Regions from separate parts of the Homo sapiens genome. Here region 2 is linked to region 1. Evidence: promoter capture Hi-C in 16 types of primary human blood cells and fetal thymus (Javierre and others, 2016). All regions are on one chromosome and are shown on one strand. Each heading gives the region's core, a stretch centred on a gene start or on the middle of the fragment in contact. The rest is flanking DNA. Distances are from core to core; before and after follow the strand shown. Region 1 holds the start of TCF23 (transcription factor 23). Region 2 holds the start of DNAJC5G (DnaJ heat shock protein family (Hsp40) member C5 gamma).

Region 1 (6,961 bases), core at 2,215-4,714:
AGGCTGGTCTTGAACTCCCAACCTCAGGTGATCCGCATGCCTCGGCCTCCCAAAGTGCTGGGATTACAGGCGTGAGCCACTGCGCATGTTGAGGCTTGTTTTATGATCCATTCTGGAGACTCTAACATATGATCCATTCTGGAGAATCTTCCATGTGCAATTTAGAAGAATCTGTAGCATTATGTTGTTGAGTGTTATTTGATGTCTGTTAGGTTTAGTAGGTTTATAGTGTTTCCCAAGTCGTCTATATCCTTATTGATTTTCTGCCTAATTGCTTGAAACTTGTAATTTTGAGGATTGCTTGAGTCAGATTCTATCTCTGTTGCCCAGGGTGGAGTGCAGTGGCGCAATCATAGCTCACTGTAACCTGGAACTCCTGGGCTCAAGTGATCTTCCCCTCTGCCCCAACAGCCTCCTGAGAAGCTAGGATTACAGGCATGCACCACTGCACCTGGCTAATACAATTATCATTTGTGTAAATTTAAAATTTATTCATACAACAATGCACAGGCTTCAGTAACACATACTACATTAGTTATCTATAGCTGCTTCCAAATTACCCCCAAACTTAAGCAGCAATAAACATTTATTATCTTCTATGGCTTCTATAAGTCAGGAATTCTACGGGCAAGAGCAATTTAGCTGGGTGATCTTGGCTCAGGGTCTCTCATGGGTTGCACTCAAACCGACAGCCAGGGCTGCAGTCATCTGGAGGTCCAACTGGAACTGGAGGATCCATTTCTGAGGTGGCTCACTCCCACGGTTGGCAAGTCGTGGTGGCTGTCAGTGAGAGGCCTCAGTTCCTCACAACATGGGCCTCTCCACAGGGCTGCTTGGATATCCTCAAGATAGCAGCTGGCTTCCCCCAGAGTGAGCGATCCAAGAGGGAGCAAGGGGGTAACTGCACTGTTTTTATTTTTTATTTTTTTTTGAGACAGTCTCACTTTGTCGCCCAGGCAGGAGTGCAGTGGCACGATCTCGGCCTACTGCAACCTCTACCTCCTGGGTTCAAGCGACTCCTGCCTCAACCTCCCGAGTATCTGGGACTATAGGCATGCATCACCATACCTGGATAATTTTTGGGGTTTTTTTTGTTGTTGTTTGTTTTTTAAGATGGAGTTTCGCTCTTCTGCCCAGTCTGGAGTGAAGTGGCGTGATCTCAGCTCATTGCAACCTCCGCCCCCGGGTTCAAGCAATTCTTCTGCCTCAGCCTCCCATGTAACTGGGATTATAGGCACCTGCCACCACACCTGGCTAATTTTTGTATTTTTAGTTGAGACAGGGTTTCGCCATGTTGGCCAGGCTAGTTTCGAACTCCTGACCTCAGGTGATCCGCCCACCTCGGCCTCCCAAAGAGCTGGGATTACAGGCGTGAGCCACCGCGCCCGGCCTGATGCACATCTTTTCCATCTCCTTTCTATATGTTCACATAAGCACATAAAACTTTACATTTCTATTTTTTATTTTTTGGTGTATTTTTTTACGTGGCTGGGGTCTTACTATATATATTGATCTACAACTAGCTTTTTTCACAACTGTGTGTTTTGAAGAGTTTTTCATGTCATTTAACAAAGGGCTGTCATTATTTTTATTACTGTACATTATTTCATAGTATGGAGATGCCAAAATTTATTTAACGACTTCCCTACTGATGGACATGCAGGTTGTTTCTACTAACCTACCTACCTTTCTTTCTTTCTTTCTTTGCTTCCTTCCTTCCTTCCTTCCTTCCTTCTTTTTTCAAGACCGTGTCTTGCTCTGTCGCCCAGGCTGGAGTGCAGTGGCACGATCTTGGCTCACTACAAGCTCCACCTCCCAGGTTCACGCCATTGTCCTGCCTCAGCCCCCTGAGTAGCTGGGACCACAGGCACCCACCACCACGCCCGGCTAATTTTTTTGTATTTTTAGTAGAGATGGGGTTTCACCCATCTTAGCCAGGATGGTCTCAGTCTCCTGACCTCGTGATCTGCCCATCTCAGCCTCCCAAAGTGCTGGGATTACAGGTGTGAGCCACTGCACCCGGCCCTTCCTTCCTTCCTTTCCTTTCCTTTTTTTTTTTTTTTTTTTTTTTTTTTTGAGATGGAGTCTCGCTCTGTCGCCCAGGCTGGAGCCCAGGCAATCTCGGCTCACTGCAACCTCTGCCTCCCGGGTTCAAGCAATTCTCCTGCCTCAGCCTCCCGCGTAGCTGGGACTACAGGCACGTGGCACCACACCCAGCTAAATTTTTGTATTTTTAGTAGAGACGGGGTTTCACCAAGTTGGCCAGGATGGTCTCCGTCTCTTGACCTCATGATCTACCTGCCTCTGCCTCCCAAAGTGCTGGGATTACAGGCGTGAGCCACCGCGCCCGGCCTCTTTTTCCCTTTCTCTGTGGTGGGCTGCATATCTTTCTCACTGTACATCCACCTTTTTACTTTCTCCTTACTTATTTGATCTCCCCTGAGGTTCGAGAATGGGGGACAAGGGACATCAGGCTGGATTCTGCTACAGGCAGAGGTCCCTGGAAGACAGCAGGGGCTGCTGTGGCAGATTCGCGATTCCTTCAGCCCGCCTTCTCCTAACTAGCTCTTGGAGGATGTGATGCAACTCAGGAACACCATGGTCCTTGCCTTCAGAGACCTCATGTCTAGCATGGGGACAGACGCGTGAGTAACCCATGGGAGGCAGGCTAGCATCAGGTGAGGGGTAGCCTTCAAAGTCCAACTGACGGCTTGGATTTTCATCCCACCCCACCACTTAACGGATGTTTGACATTGGGCAAGTTATTTCACCTCCCAGTATACCAGTTCCCACACATCTAAACTGAGTCTCTTTTTTTCTTAAAAGGTTGCTCTGAGAAATAAATAAGATGCTTAGCACAGTGCCTGGCACACAGTAATCTATGAATATCGAACTTCTGGGAAAGTAGCCAGGCTGTGATTGTACCAATCAAACAGGGACCCATGGGCTCTGGGCCTGCGGGATTTGAAGTCTTCACGAATGAAAGGCGGAGACCTGAAGGATGGGCAGTACCTCCTGGCAGAGCTGGAGGAAGGTATTCTGGGGCGTGGAAAGGTAAATTTAAACACAGAGTGGAAATCGGAGGCATATTTGGGGCATGGCAAATCGCGCTCTGTGGCTGGAAGGTCACGTTCATTGGCAAGGGGAGGAAAGGCCTTTCAGGGATGTATGCAGGCAGCCTTCTGGCACAGACGAAGGAGGTTCAAGTCCTCTCCATGGACGTGAGCTCCAAAGCGGAAGTCACAGGTCCACCATAGGACCACTGTTGAGGTTAGGCATGGCCGGAAAGGAGCTCCCTTCCCCACTATCCTCCTGCCTTCTTCAGCATGGGCCTCCTCCCAAGGCTTGGCCACTCCCAGCATCCAGCACCCCCACCTCTCAGCTGGGTTAGGAGGCAGGCGGAGGCTTTTCGCGGGGGCTGTGCCTGGTGGGCGGTTTTCCCAGAGCAGGGAGCAAACAGGACTGAGTTGGCGCCAGCTTCCTCGGATGTAGATATTGCTGGCTGGATGACCAGCCACAGCCAGCTAGCTTGAGTCCAAGGCCTCCTCAGGCACTGTGTTTCTGCTCTGTGGGCTGCAGCCCCAGTGGGGTGGCATGTCACAGAGGAAGGCCAGAGGGCCACCAGCCATGCCAGGGGTGGGGCATAGCCAGACTCAGGCCAAAGCACGGTTGCTGCCAGGCGCTGACAGGAAGAGGAGCCGCCTCAGCAGGACAAGGCAGGACCCGTGGGAAGAAAGAAGCTGGAGCAACCAGAGATGGAGCAGAGCTACCCCTGGCCCTCGAGGGACCAGGGCTGGGGGCCTGGCTCTTGGCAGGGTAAGGAAATCCTGCACCTGCAGAGGGGTCCAGGGGAGGAAGGGGTTGGAAGGTGGGGAGATGTCACCTCTGATGGTACAGCCTCACTCAGTATTACCATTCCTGCCCAAGAGAGGGGACACTGGCCCCTTAGACTCCAAGGCATCATGCTTTGGGTAGTTGGGATAGATCAGAGCTGGTCTTAACCAGAGTGCAGCTCAGAGAGCTGCACTAACTCACTTCTCTTGAGGAAACTGAGGCCGGGAAGAGGGATGTGAATTTCCCAAGGTCACTGAGCAGCAGCCAGTGGTAGGACTGGGACTTCAGCCTGTGTGCTTTGACCCCTGGTTCTGTGTCTTTCCTCTTTCCCACAGCAGCCTCGTCGTCTCAGGACCTGGCTAGGTCAAGGGTCCGCCCTCCCAAACAGGGTGTAGCTCTGAACTCCCCCTGGCCCCAGCACACCCTGATAAGCAGGATTCAGATTGGGCATGGGACAGGACAAAGGCTCTGAGGAGGCATGAGTGGAGTAGTAGAGAGAACACAGGACTCTGGGTTCTGAGCCAAGCTCTGCCATCCTGCAGCCATCTGACCCCTGGCCAGGCCTTCCCCCAACTTCCTCAGCTGTGAAACGCGGCAGGGCTGCAGATGACGTAGGTGGGCAGAGGCCCTCTGGTGCCTACTGCTAGACACCCTTCTACTCTGGTGGGAGACCTTGTGCTCAAACGCTCTCAGAAGTCAGGGCAGTTGGGAGTCCAGGTCACACACACTCACTGGGGCCCTCTGTGCAGAGCGAGGCCAGTCCTGAGAATGCCGCGCGGGAGCGGAGCCGGGTCAGGACGCTGCGCCAGGCCTTCTTGGCCTTGCAGGCTGCTCTGCCTGCCGTGCCGCCCGACACCAAGCTCTCCAAGTTGGACGTGCTGGTGCTCGCCGCCAGCTACATAGCCCACCTCACCCGCACACTCGGCCACGAGTTGCCTGGCCCTGCCTGGCCGCCCTTCCTGCGTGGACTCCGCTACTTGCACCCTCTCAAGGTAAGTCACAAGCCCTGGGACTTGAGAGGCGGATCTTAATGCCCAGGGCCTTGGAGAAAGGGATTGGAATGAGGGGGGACATTGGACTTGGGCCCCCTGCCCTGTGCAGAACTGACGTCGGAGCCAATTTCTCCTGCTGTCTCAGAGGGAGAGGAGCCAAGGCTGACCCTTGGGGCTGCGCTGACCCTGGGTTTCTCATGGGAGTGTGGCTGGAAATGGCTTCATGGGAATGCACCTCCTTGAAGAGGAGGGAAAGACTCTGGGGTTCTTAGAGTCACAGGGAAAAATGTAGCAGGTTCCAAGTCTGGGGCCTGGGAAAGGAAATTATACCAAGGAGAGTCCTAGATCCCCATGCAGCTTCAGCCCATTGTGCCTGCCTTGGTGCTTTCTAGGCTTCTGTTGCAAGAGAGGTCTGTCCTCCAGGAGAACAACGGTCTGAGGGACCGTCATTCTAGAAGCAACCAAGCTGGGGGAGTTAGCAGGCAGCAGTACAGGGAAGGCGCGCACCACTTGCCAGACTGCAATCTAGCTTTTCTCAACCTCAGTTTTATTACACGTAAAATAGAAGCTAACATGAGCCTTACTTCTCTTCCAGAGTACAAAATGGAAAGTCTAATGAACATTAATCATCTTTGCAATAACAGCTAACAGTTGAGTGCTAAAGATAGGCCAGGAGCTGGGTTAAGTACGTTAGTGTATTTTTGTCTTTTAATCCATGCAAAAACCAAATGAGGATTACTTTACAGATGAGGAAACTGAAGCTTAGGGAGGTTATGAGGCTGAAAGCGGTTTGAACTCAGGGGTGTCTGACTTCAGACCCTAAGCTCATAGCCACTAAACAGTCTCCAGGGACAGCGCCATAAGGAGCTGGTTGAAGAGTGCACTGTGTTAAAAAGGAAGGGTCATCTTTGCCCTCTGAGGATAACATTGCAGTGGTATCAACTTTTTTATTTTATTATTTATTTATATATGTACTATTATTTTTTTGAGACAGAGTTTCACTCTGTCGCCCAGGCTGGAGTGCAGTGGCGCAATCTTGGCTCACTGCAACCTCCACCTCCCGGTTCAAGTGATTCTCCTCCCTCAGCCTCCCGAGTAGGTGGGATTATAGGCGTGCACCACCATGCCCGGCTAATTTTTCTATTTTTAGTAGAGATAGGGTTTCACCACTTTGGCCAGGTTGGTCTCAAACTCCCGACCTCAGATGATCCACCCACTACGGCCTCCCAAAGTGCTGGGATTACAGGTGTGAGCCACCACACCCAACTATTTATTTATTTACTTATTGTTGAGACAGGGTCTCACTGTCGCCCATGCTGGAGTGCAGTAGCGCAATCATAGCTTACTGTACCCTCAAACTCCTGGGCTCAAGGAATCCTCCCACCTCAGCTTCCCCAGTAGCTGGGACTACAGCCTTATGCCACCACACCTGGCTTTTTTTTTTCTTTTTTTTTTTGTAGAGACGGGGTCTCACTTTGTTCCACAGGCTTGTCTCAAACTCTAAGCTCAAGTGATCCTCTCACCTCTCAACTTTATTTTTATGATACTTTTCACCACCTCTTTCCCCTAAATGTCATAGTTCTGAAATGTCTTAAAACTTGGTTTTTTTCTTCAATGCAAATGTAGCTAAAATGTATAAATTTGAGACTAAGTGGGGAACTCTGAAATGTCAGTGGTGGTGCAGGGTCCTGGGATGATATAGTAGTTTCCTTCGCTGTAAAATAGTGACCAAGGCAAGGCCCTTGCTTGTAGTAGGTGATCAACAGCTATGCTGAAGAATGAACCAATGAGGGCCCGGTTAGGTCCAGCACTCCAGCACATCCACAGGGTGGGGCAGTTGGCCAGGAAGCAGCTCCCTCAGCTCCCAGGTGGAGAGGTTGTGAACAGGAGGGCGACCTCAGGGCAATCAACCTGGTGTATTCTGGGACTGCTCATGCTCCTGCTGGAAAGATGGGCAAACCTTGGAGGACCCAGCTTGGAGTTTTTCCTGGCTCTGCTGCTCTGCCCATTGCTCAGCCTCTGGCTGTTGCCAGCTCTGCCCAGGCCAGCTGATCTTCTGTCCACCTCCCTCCCAACAGAGCGCTGCTCTTCTTGGGGCCCTCTCCCTCCTCAGATGGCTCCTCCTGTGTCTCTCA
Region 2 (7,848 bases), core at 382-2,881, 130 kb after region 1:
AGGCTGGAGTGTAATGGCACGATCTCGGCTCACTGCAACCTCCGCCACACCCAGCTAATTTTTTTATTTTTAGTAGAGACAGGGTTTTACTATGTTGGCCAGACTGGTCTTGAACTCCTGACCTCGTGATCGACCCGCCTCGGCCTCCCAAAGTGCTGAGATTACAGGCATGAGCCACTGCGCCTGGCCAACAGCAGCTTTTAAATCAATATGCAAATAAACATATGTTCACCAGCTGGGCGTGGTGGCTCACGCCTGTAATCCCTGCACTTTTGGAGGCTGAGGCGGGCAGATCACTTGAGCTCAGGAGTTCAAGACCAGCCTGGGCAACATGATGAAACCCTGCCTCTACCAAAAATATGAAAATTAGCTGGGCATGCTGGTGCATGCCTTTAGTCCCAGCTACTTGGGAGGCTGAGGTGGGAGGATGGCTTGAGCCCAGGAAGTTGTGGCTGCTGAGCTGTGATTGTGTCACTGCACTCCAGACTAAGACCTTGTCTCAAAAAAAAAAAAAAATATATATATATATATGGATAGATATAGATACATATACACAGTGTGTGTGTGTGTGTGTGTGTGTGTGTGTATTTGCAGGCTGTTATGAGGTGAGGAGAGAGGAGTAGAACCCAGTTTAGAAGGCCTCTCTGAGGAGGCCTGAAGCTGAGATCCCTGAAGGATGAGAGGTCAAGCCCTCCAGGCAGAGGGAACAACATGGTCAAAGACTCTTGAAATGGGAGGGAACACGATGTTTTCAAATAACTAACAGGAAAGAGGAAAGCGGTGGAGCAGAGCCCAGAGCAAGTAGGACAGTGGTTCCAGAAAAGATTGGAGAGGGAGGGGCAGGACCACGCTGGGTCTTACAGACTGAGGCAAGGAATTCGTTATAAGTGAACCTCTAATGCCTTCTGCTCTCTCTACCCAGTGCTGGGGAAGAAATGAGCTGGTTTGTTCTGCTAGTTCTGTCCTCCCATGATAGTCATGAAAGCTTGGGGGTTAAAGAAATCTGGCATGAGACAAACCACCATAAAAAAATTATCAGCTTCAGCTTCTTTTTAAGTGAGTGACCTCTAAACTCATCTGACCCAGAGACTATGGACCAGGTGGGTAATGCAAAGGTCTTCATCCCCTCTCCCTGCACTGACCACAGGCCTACAGAAATAAATTCATTAATTCAGCAGTCATCACGTCTGCTACAGATGGACTCCTTAGTTCGTTTGCTTAGATGGTTCTTGAGGTGGAATACTGATTTACAAGTGCACCTCTAATGCCTTCTGCTCTCTCTACCCAGTGCTGGGGAAGAAATGAGCTGGTTTGTTCTGCTAGTTCTGTCCTCCCATGAGTCATGAAAGCTTGGGGGTTAAAGAAATTTGGCATGAGACAAACCACCAAAAAACATTATCAGCTTCAGCTTCTTTTTTGGTGAGTGACCTTCGAAGGAGCTGGCGCAATGGGGGTTGGCGCAATGGCTTCAAGGAGGCTGGCACAATGGCTCACGCCTTCAAGGGGGCTGGCGCAATGGCTCACGCCTGTAATCCCAGCACTTTTGGAGGCTGAGGCGGGTAGATCACTGAGGTCAGGAGTTCGAAACCAGCCTGGCCAACATGGTGAAACCCCGTCTCTACTAAAAATACAAAAAAAATTAGCCAGGCGTGGTGGCAGGCACCTGTAATCCCAGCTACTTGGAAGGCTGAAGCAGGAGAATCACTTGAACCCGGAAGGCAGAGGTTCCAGTGAGCAGACATTGTGCCACTGCACTCCAGCCTGTGTGACAGAGTGAGACTCCACCTCAAAACACAACAAAACAAACAAAAAAAACCTACAAGGTGAGGAAAATGTGCACAAATAACTGTAATAAAAGGAAGAGAGTGATAAAAGCTACAAAAAGGTTAACAGATAAGCATTTTCCAAGTAACAAAGCTTTTTCTACTACATGTTACAGGAGCCATTGAGTGCTCTTGCAAAGAAAACCAGCACTACAAAGTAGTAAATTATAAGTGATGCAAACACTACCTCCTGTAGAAACTCACAGGAAGGGAAGCCAGGTAGAGGCATGCTCCCATGCCAGCAGGTGGGGATACAAATCCTCCTTCTGCTACCTTTCCAGAAGAAAGTTAGCAATAGAGATCAAGAGCGTAAAAAAAAAAGAAAAGAAAAAAGAAAAAAAAAATCATTTCGACCCAATAATTCCACTTCTAAGAATGTATCCTTAGGAAAAAAAATTAGACATTTGTTCAAGGATTTCTGTTGAATTTTCCTTATAAGGTTATTATATTATCAAATAGAAACAACTGAAACAGCCAAGTTGGGTTACATTATGGGACATGCTCATGATGGCATCATATTTAAGTGACGTTTTTGAAGCACGGTAGTGACTTTTGGAAAAGGCTCAATACATCATTTTAATGAGACGTGCAAACTCATCATTACGATATACTAGGAGAAATGCTTTGACAGACGAAGTGGGAACAACTGGGAGAGTGAATGATGGAGTGTCAGGAACAGGGGCATATGAGTTGGGTCTTCCAGGTTGTGGAGGTGTTTCCGGGTGGAAGAGAAGGAGGGACCAAGCGGAGAGCCCTAAGTCCTGAAGACAACTGGGAAGGTAACACACCTCTTAAGAAGGGCATGCAGCAGCCATACCTCTCATCCGCCACGGTCAGCAAACCCATTGTGTTTCCTGGAGTGAGTTGGGCCATCAAGATGGGTGGTGCCCTCCTGCTGGGGAAGAGGGGCTCGGTGGGAATCCCTGCCCCAAGGCCTGGCAGCAACGCTCCTACGCTGCCTTGGGCCGCAGGCCTGCTAAGCCCTCCGCTCTCGCTTCCCTGCGCGCGAAATAAGTCCCAGGGCCAATGTGGCCTCCCCACCCAGTGCTTCCGGGGGCGCCAAAAAACGACCTGCCCAGACCCTCAGCGTCGACGCTGCGCACAAGCGCAGTCAACTGCTGGACCCGGCCGGTGTGAAGTTTCACACCCAAAAGGATGAAGGGCACCCACCTGGCTTAAGAGAACGACTCCCAGGTAAAGGGCCAGACCCAGGTGAGGAGTCGGCACAGGGCCAGAGGTGCCCTGCACACTCAGAGCTCTCCCTTTGAGCTCCTTGCCTTGCTCGGTTCTCCTGGGCCGCAGGCGTCTACCCTGCTCTCTGGGGTTCCGCTGCCTTTTCCTTGCCAGGTCTTTCCCACAGCAACGCCTTTTCTCTTCCTTCTCCAGCCTCTGAGTCCTCTTCCTCCTCTCCCCACTGTCCCACCTCTGAGGGACAGAAGTGGGGTGGTTTGAGAGCAGGAGACTGGAGGGAAGAAGCAAGTCCAGGCCTAGCTGCAAGCACTCCCCACCCCCGCCCCCGCCCCCGCCCCCGCCCCCGCCAGGCTCTAGGACACTTGACTTCTGTTAGGCCTCACACGGTTTGGTCTGAAGTGTTTCTCTCTTAATAGCTGTGGATCGGCGAGGCTCAATGGCTCACGCCTGTAATCTCAGGACTTTGGGAGGCCGAGGTGGGTGGATCACCTGAGGTCAGGAGTTCAAGAACAGCCTGACCAACATGGTGAAACTCTGTCTCTACTAAAAACACAGAAAATTAGCCGGGCGTGGTGGCGTGCACCTGTAATCTCAGCTACTCGGGAGGCTGAGGCAGGAAAATCGCTTGCACCCAGGAGGTGGAGGTTGCAGTGAGCCGAGATCGCGCCATTACACTTCAGCCTGGGCAACAAGAGCAAAAAACTCCGTCAAAAAAAAAAAAAAGAAGAAGAAGTTGTGGAGCTGTCTGATTCCTGATCCTGTCCGTTCAGGCTGGGGCCGCCCTGGTCTTTCAAACCCAGCAGTGAGCTTGGACAGACCCAGAGGTGTTTACTCCAGGTAATAGGAGCTCTAGACAAAATCAGGCTCTTTTCCTGGCTTAGACCTCTCCCTGCTTACAACACCTCTAGGATGTGGGATATCTAGAGGTCTGTGTAGCTGGAGGATGCTGGGAAATGTGAGGAGAAGATGTTTCCTCCTTAAAATTGGAATCTTTCTGATCACCTGAATTCTCCTGCTAGCCACAAATCCCACTCACTCTTATCTTATCCTTGTCCTTCTGTCATCGTTTACCTGCCTAATCCCTGAAGGTAGTGAGTTTCCTGTCACTGGAAGTGCACTTCTCGGTACCCTTACTTGTAGAAGTTCTCACAGATGCTGCTTCTCCTCTGGCTCAGATCATGTCTACTGTGAAGGAAGCAGCACACCGGCTGTCCAAAAGTGAGATGAGCCTCTATGCAGTGCTGGATCTTAAGAAGGGCGCCTCACCTGAAGACTTCAAAAAATCCTACAGGTTCAGACCTCAGCCCTTTATTGATCCTTGGAATTTCCCCCTTAAACCTTTTTCTTTCTGTATCTCTTTTGCTATCTGACTCTTTTTTTTTTTTTTTTTTTTTGAGAGGAAGTCTCGTCCTGTCACAGAGCAGAGACAGAGACTATTGAGAGTGCAGTGGCACGATCTTGGCTTACTGCAACCTCTGCCTCCCAGGTTCAAGCAATTCTCTCACCTCAGCCTCCTGAGAAGCTGGGACTACAGGCGTGCACCACCACGCCTGGCTAATTTTTGTATTTTTAGTAGAGACAGGGTTTCGCCATGTTGGCCAGGCTGGTCTCAAACTCCTGACCTCAGGTGATCTACCTGCCTCGGCCTCCCAAAGTGCTGGGATTACAGGTGTGAACCACTGTGCCTGGCCTACGACCCGTTTGTTTGTTTGTTTGTTTGTTTGTTTGTTTTGAGACAGTCTCGCTCTGTTGCCCAAGCTGTAGTGCAGTGGTGCAGTCTCGGCTCACTGCAACCTCCACCTTCCGGGTTGAAGTGATTCTCCTGCCTCAGCCTCCCGAGTAGCTGGGATTACAGGTGCCTGCCACTATGCCCAGCTAATCTTTTGTATTTTTGGTAGAGACAGGGTTTCACCATGTTGGCCAAGCTGGTCTCAAACTCCTGACCTCATGATCCGCCCACCTTGGCCTCCCAAAGCGCTGGGATTACAGGTGTGAGCCAGTGCTCCCAGCCCTATGACCCATTTTTAAGTTCCAACAAGCCCTCACTTTGGGGCCAAATGGCACCATCACCCTCTTCATTATAGTATGGGAAGGAGTTTAGACCTTGGATGCTTGCCTCCATCCTTTGTACCACATCTCATGCATTCCTTCTGCACTCTCTAGAGACTAATCCATGTCATTCATCGTAAGTCTCCTTCCCCAGCCATTCCGCATTGCTTCCCCACCCTCCTTTTGAGTATCACCTGGGTAGGAAACTGGCCTTGCGGTATCATCCCGACAAGAATCCAGGGAATGCTCAAGCAGCAGAAATATTCAAAGAGATCAACGCAGCTCATGCCATACTGAGCGACTCTAAGAAGCGGAAAATTTACGACCAGCATGGCTCATTGGGAATATATCTGTATGATCACTTTGGTGAAGAAGGCGTCAGATACTATTTTATTCTGAATAGTTGTTGGTTCAAGGTACACAATTCTCCAGGTCCTTTAAGAATAAGGAAAGAAGGGTGACCTTCCTTTCCTTATGACAAATGCTTCTGTTGTCTCATTTTCTGGGTGCCAGGAGGATTGAGGGAGGGAAGCTTGAGCAGTCATATAGAAAACTGCTGGACTGAGGCCATTCTCGCCTACCTTTTAGACACTTGTCATCCTGTGTACTCTGCTCACTTGTTGCTGTTTCTGTTGTTGCTGCTGTTTTTGCTGTGGAGCACTTAAACCACCACCTGAGCAGGATAGTGGGAGAAAATATCAGCAGAATGTCCAGAGTCAGCCTCCAAGGTCAGGTGAGAACTGCAAGCAGGGACTGTGAGGTAAGAAATGTCTGGATTGGGAATGAAAGAAATGATTGGGGTTGGGCACAATGGCTCATGCCTGTAATCCCAGCACTTTGGGAGGGTGAGGCGGGTGGATCACTTGAGGTCAGGAGTTGGAGACAAGCCTGGCCAACATGGTAAAACCCTGTCTCTACTAAAAATACAAAAATTAGCTGGGCATGGTGGCACCCACCTGTAGTCCCAGCTACTTGGGAGGCTGAGGAGGCAGAAGAATCGCTTGAACCCGGAAGGCAGAGGTTGCAGTGAGCTGAGATCGCGCCACTGCACTCCAGCCTGGGAGACAGAGCAAGACTCCATCTCAAAAAAAAAAAAAAAAAAAAAAAAAGAAAAGAAAAGAAAGAGGCTGGGCATGGTGGCTCAAACCTGTAATCCCAGCACTTTGGGAGGCCGAGGCGGGCGGATCACGAGGTCAGGAGTTTGAGACCAGCCTGACCAACATGGTGAAACCCTGTCTCTACTAAAAATACAAAAATTAGCCAGGTGTGGTGGCGGGCGCCTGTAACCCCAGCTACTTAGGAGGCTGAGGCAGGAGAATTGCTTGAACCCGGGAGACGGAAGTTTCCGTGAGCCAAGATCATGCCACTGCACTCCAGCTTGGGCAACAGAGTGAGACTCCATCTCAAAAAAAAAAAAAAAAAAGAAAGAAAGAAATGGTTGAGGGTGAGAAAGACCTGTGAAAATGGCAGGTTAATCCCTAAATATGACAATTTCAAGTCTTCAAGTCTGGCACTGGGACAAAGTGAAGAAAAAAAAAAGATCAATATGTTTCTGTGCATCACACGACAAACTGACAGTTTGAAGGTAGTAGTGTCAGCTCCTGTTAAGCTAAGGAATGGGGTGGGAGAGTATGTCTAGAGAGGACAGTTAGGTTAAGACAGATTTGAGGATGCAATTTTTGTTGTTGTTGTTTTGTTGTTGTTGGTGGTGGTGGTGTTGAGATGTAGTCTCAGTCTGTCACCCAGGCTGGATGGAGTGCAGTGGTGCGATCTCAGCTCATTGCAACCTCTGCCTCCCGGGTTCAAGCGATTCTACTGCCTCAGCCTCCTGAGTAGCTGGGATTACTAAAAAATTAGCTGGCTAATTTTTTATTTTTAGTAGAGTCAGGGTTTCGCCATGTTGGCCAGTCTGGTCTCCAACTCCTGACCTCAAGTGATCCACCTGCCTTGGCCTCCCAAAGTGTTGGGTTTATAGGCATGAGCCACTGTGCCTGGCGGGATGCAATTTTTTCCATCTACTCAAAGGAAAGGGCCAGTTGCAGTGGCTTGTGCCTGTAATCCCAGCACTTTGGGGAGCCAAGGTGGGCAGATCACTTGAGCTCAGGAGTTTGAGACCAGCCTCAGCAACATCATGAAACCCAGTATCTACAAAAAAAAAAAAAAAAATACAGAAGTCAGCCGGTCATGGCAGTGCACACCTGTAGTCTCAGCTACAGGGGAGGCTGAGGTGGGAGGATTATTTGAGTCTGGGAGGTTGAGGTTACAGTGAGCTGTGATCATGCCACTGCACTCCAGCCTGGGTGACAGAGTGAGACCCTGTATCAAAAAAGAAGAAGAAGAAGAAGGAAAGGAGGAGGAGGGGGAGGGGAAGAGGAAGAGGAAGAAAAGAAAAGGAAAGTCTGAGATCATTCCCCCCCAAATGAACTTTTATAAGCTGATTGAACTTGACACCAGCGCCACCTGGTGATGCTAATGAGTAACTGCAAGGTAACGGTTTTCTCATCAGTACACTACGAAAAGTTACTAAACGTTTGTATATGTAAACATATATATAATTCCATCATAGGAGCCAAATGTGATTTTAGAAGCGAGGAAAATAGCGAAGATGATTTTTAAGAGATGAAGAAGGATGAGGTATGTAAACCGAAAGGCAGCAACAGTTATCAGATAAGAAAAGCATGTAAGCTAACGTCAGATGAGTCATTAGTAGAAAGTTTACATCCTTATAGTATGGACTATGTGTTTATATCCTTACATGTAGGGGTTTGCTTTAAGTTCTAGGTAA

What was found. The method cuts DNA at HindIII sites, captures the fragments that hold promoters and counts their contacts. A CHiCAGO score of 5 or more calls a contact.
Region 2: a contact is called between a fragment that was not itself captured here and the fragment with the promoter of TCF23 in region 1, in 2 of 17 cell types (naive B cells and total B cells). The highest score is 6.5, in naive B cells.

What each region holds. Positions count from the first base shown.
Region 1 is chr2:27,145,540-27,152,500 of GRCh38, forward strand. TCF23 (transcription factor 23) reads left to right here and starts at 3,465. Exons shown (of 3, transcript NM_175769.3): 1 at 3,465-3,816; 2 at 4,584-4,826. The coding sequence starts at 3,595. The HindIII fragment of the contact is 12,568 bases long and covers 1-5,585 here.
Region 2 is chr2:27,272,537-27,280,384 of GRCh38, forward strand. It overlaps DNAJC5G (DnaJ heat shock protein family (Hsp40) member C5 gamma), which reads left to right and starts at 2,897. Exons shown (of 7, transcript NM_173650.3): 1 at 2,897-3,017; 2 at 3,570-3,851; 3 at 4,190-4,305; 4 at 5,218-5,479; 5 at 5,652-5,796; 6 at 7,630-7,697. The coding sequence starts at 4,193. The coding sequence ends at 7,679. It also overlaps a transcript of SLC30A3 not described here. The HindIII fragment of the contact is 568 bases long and covers 1,348-1,915 here.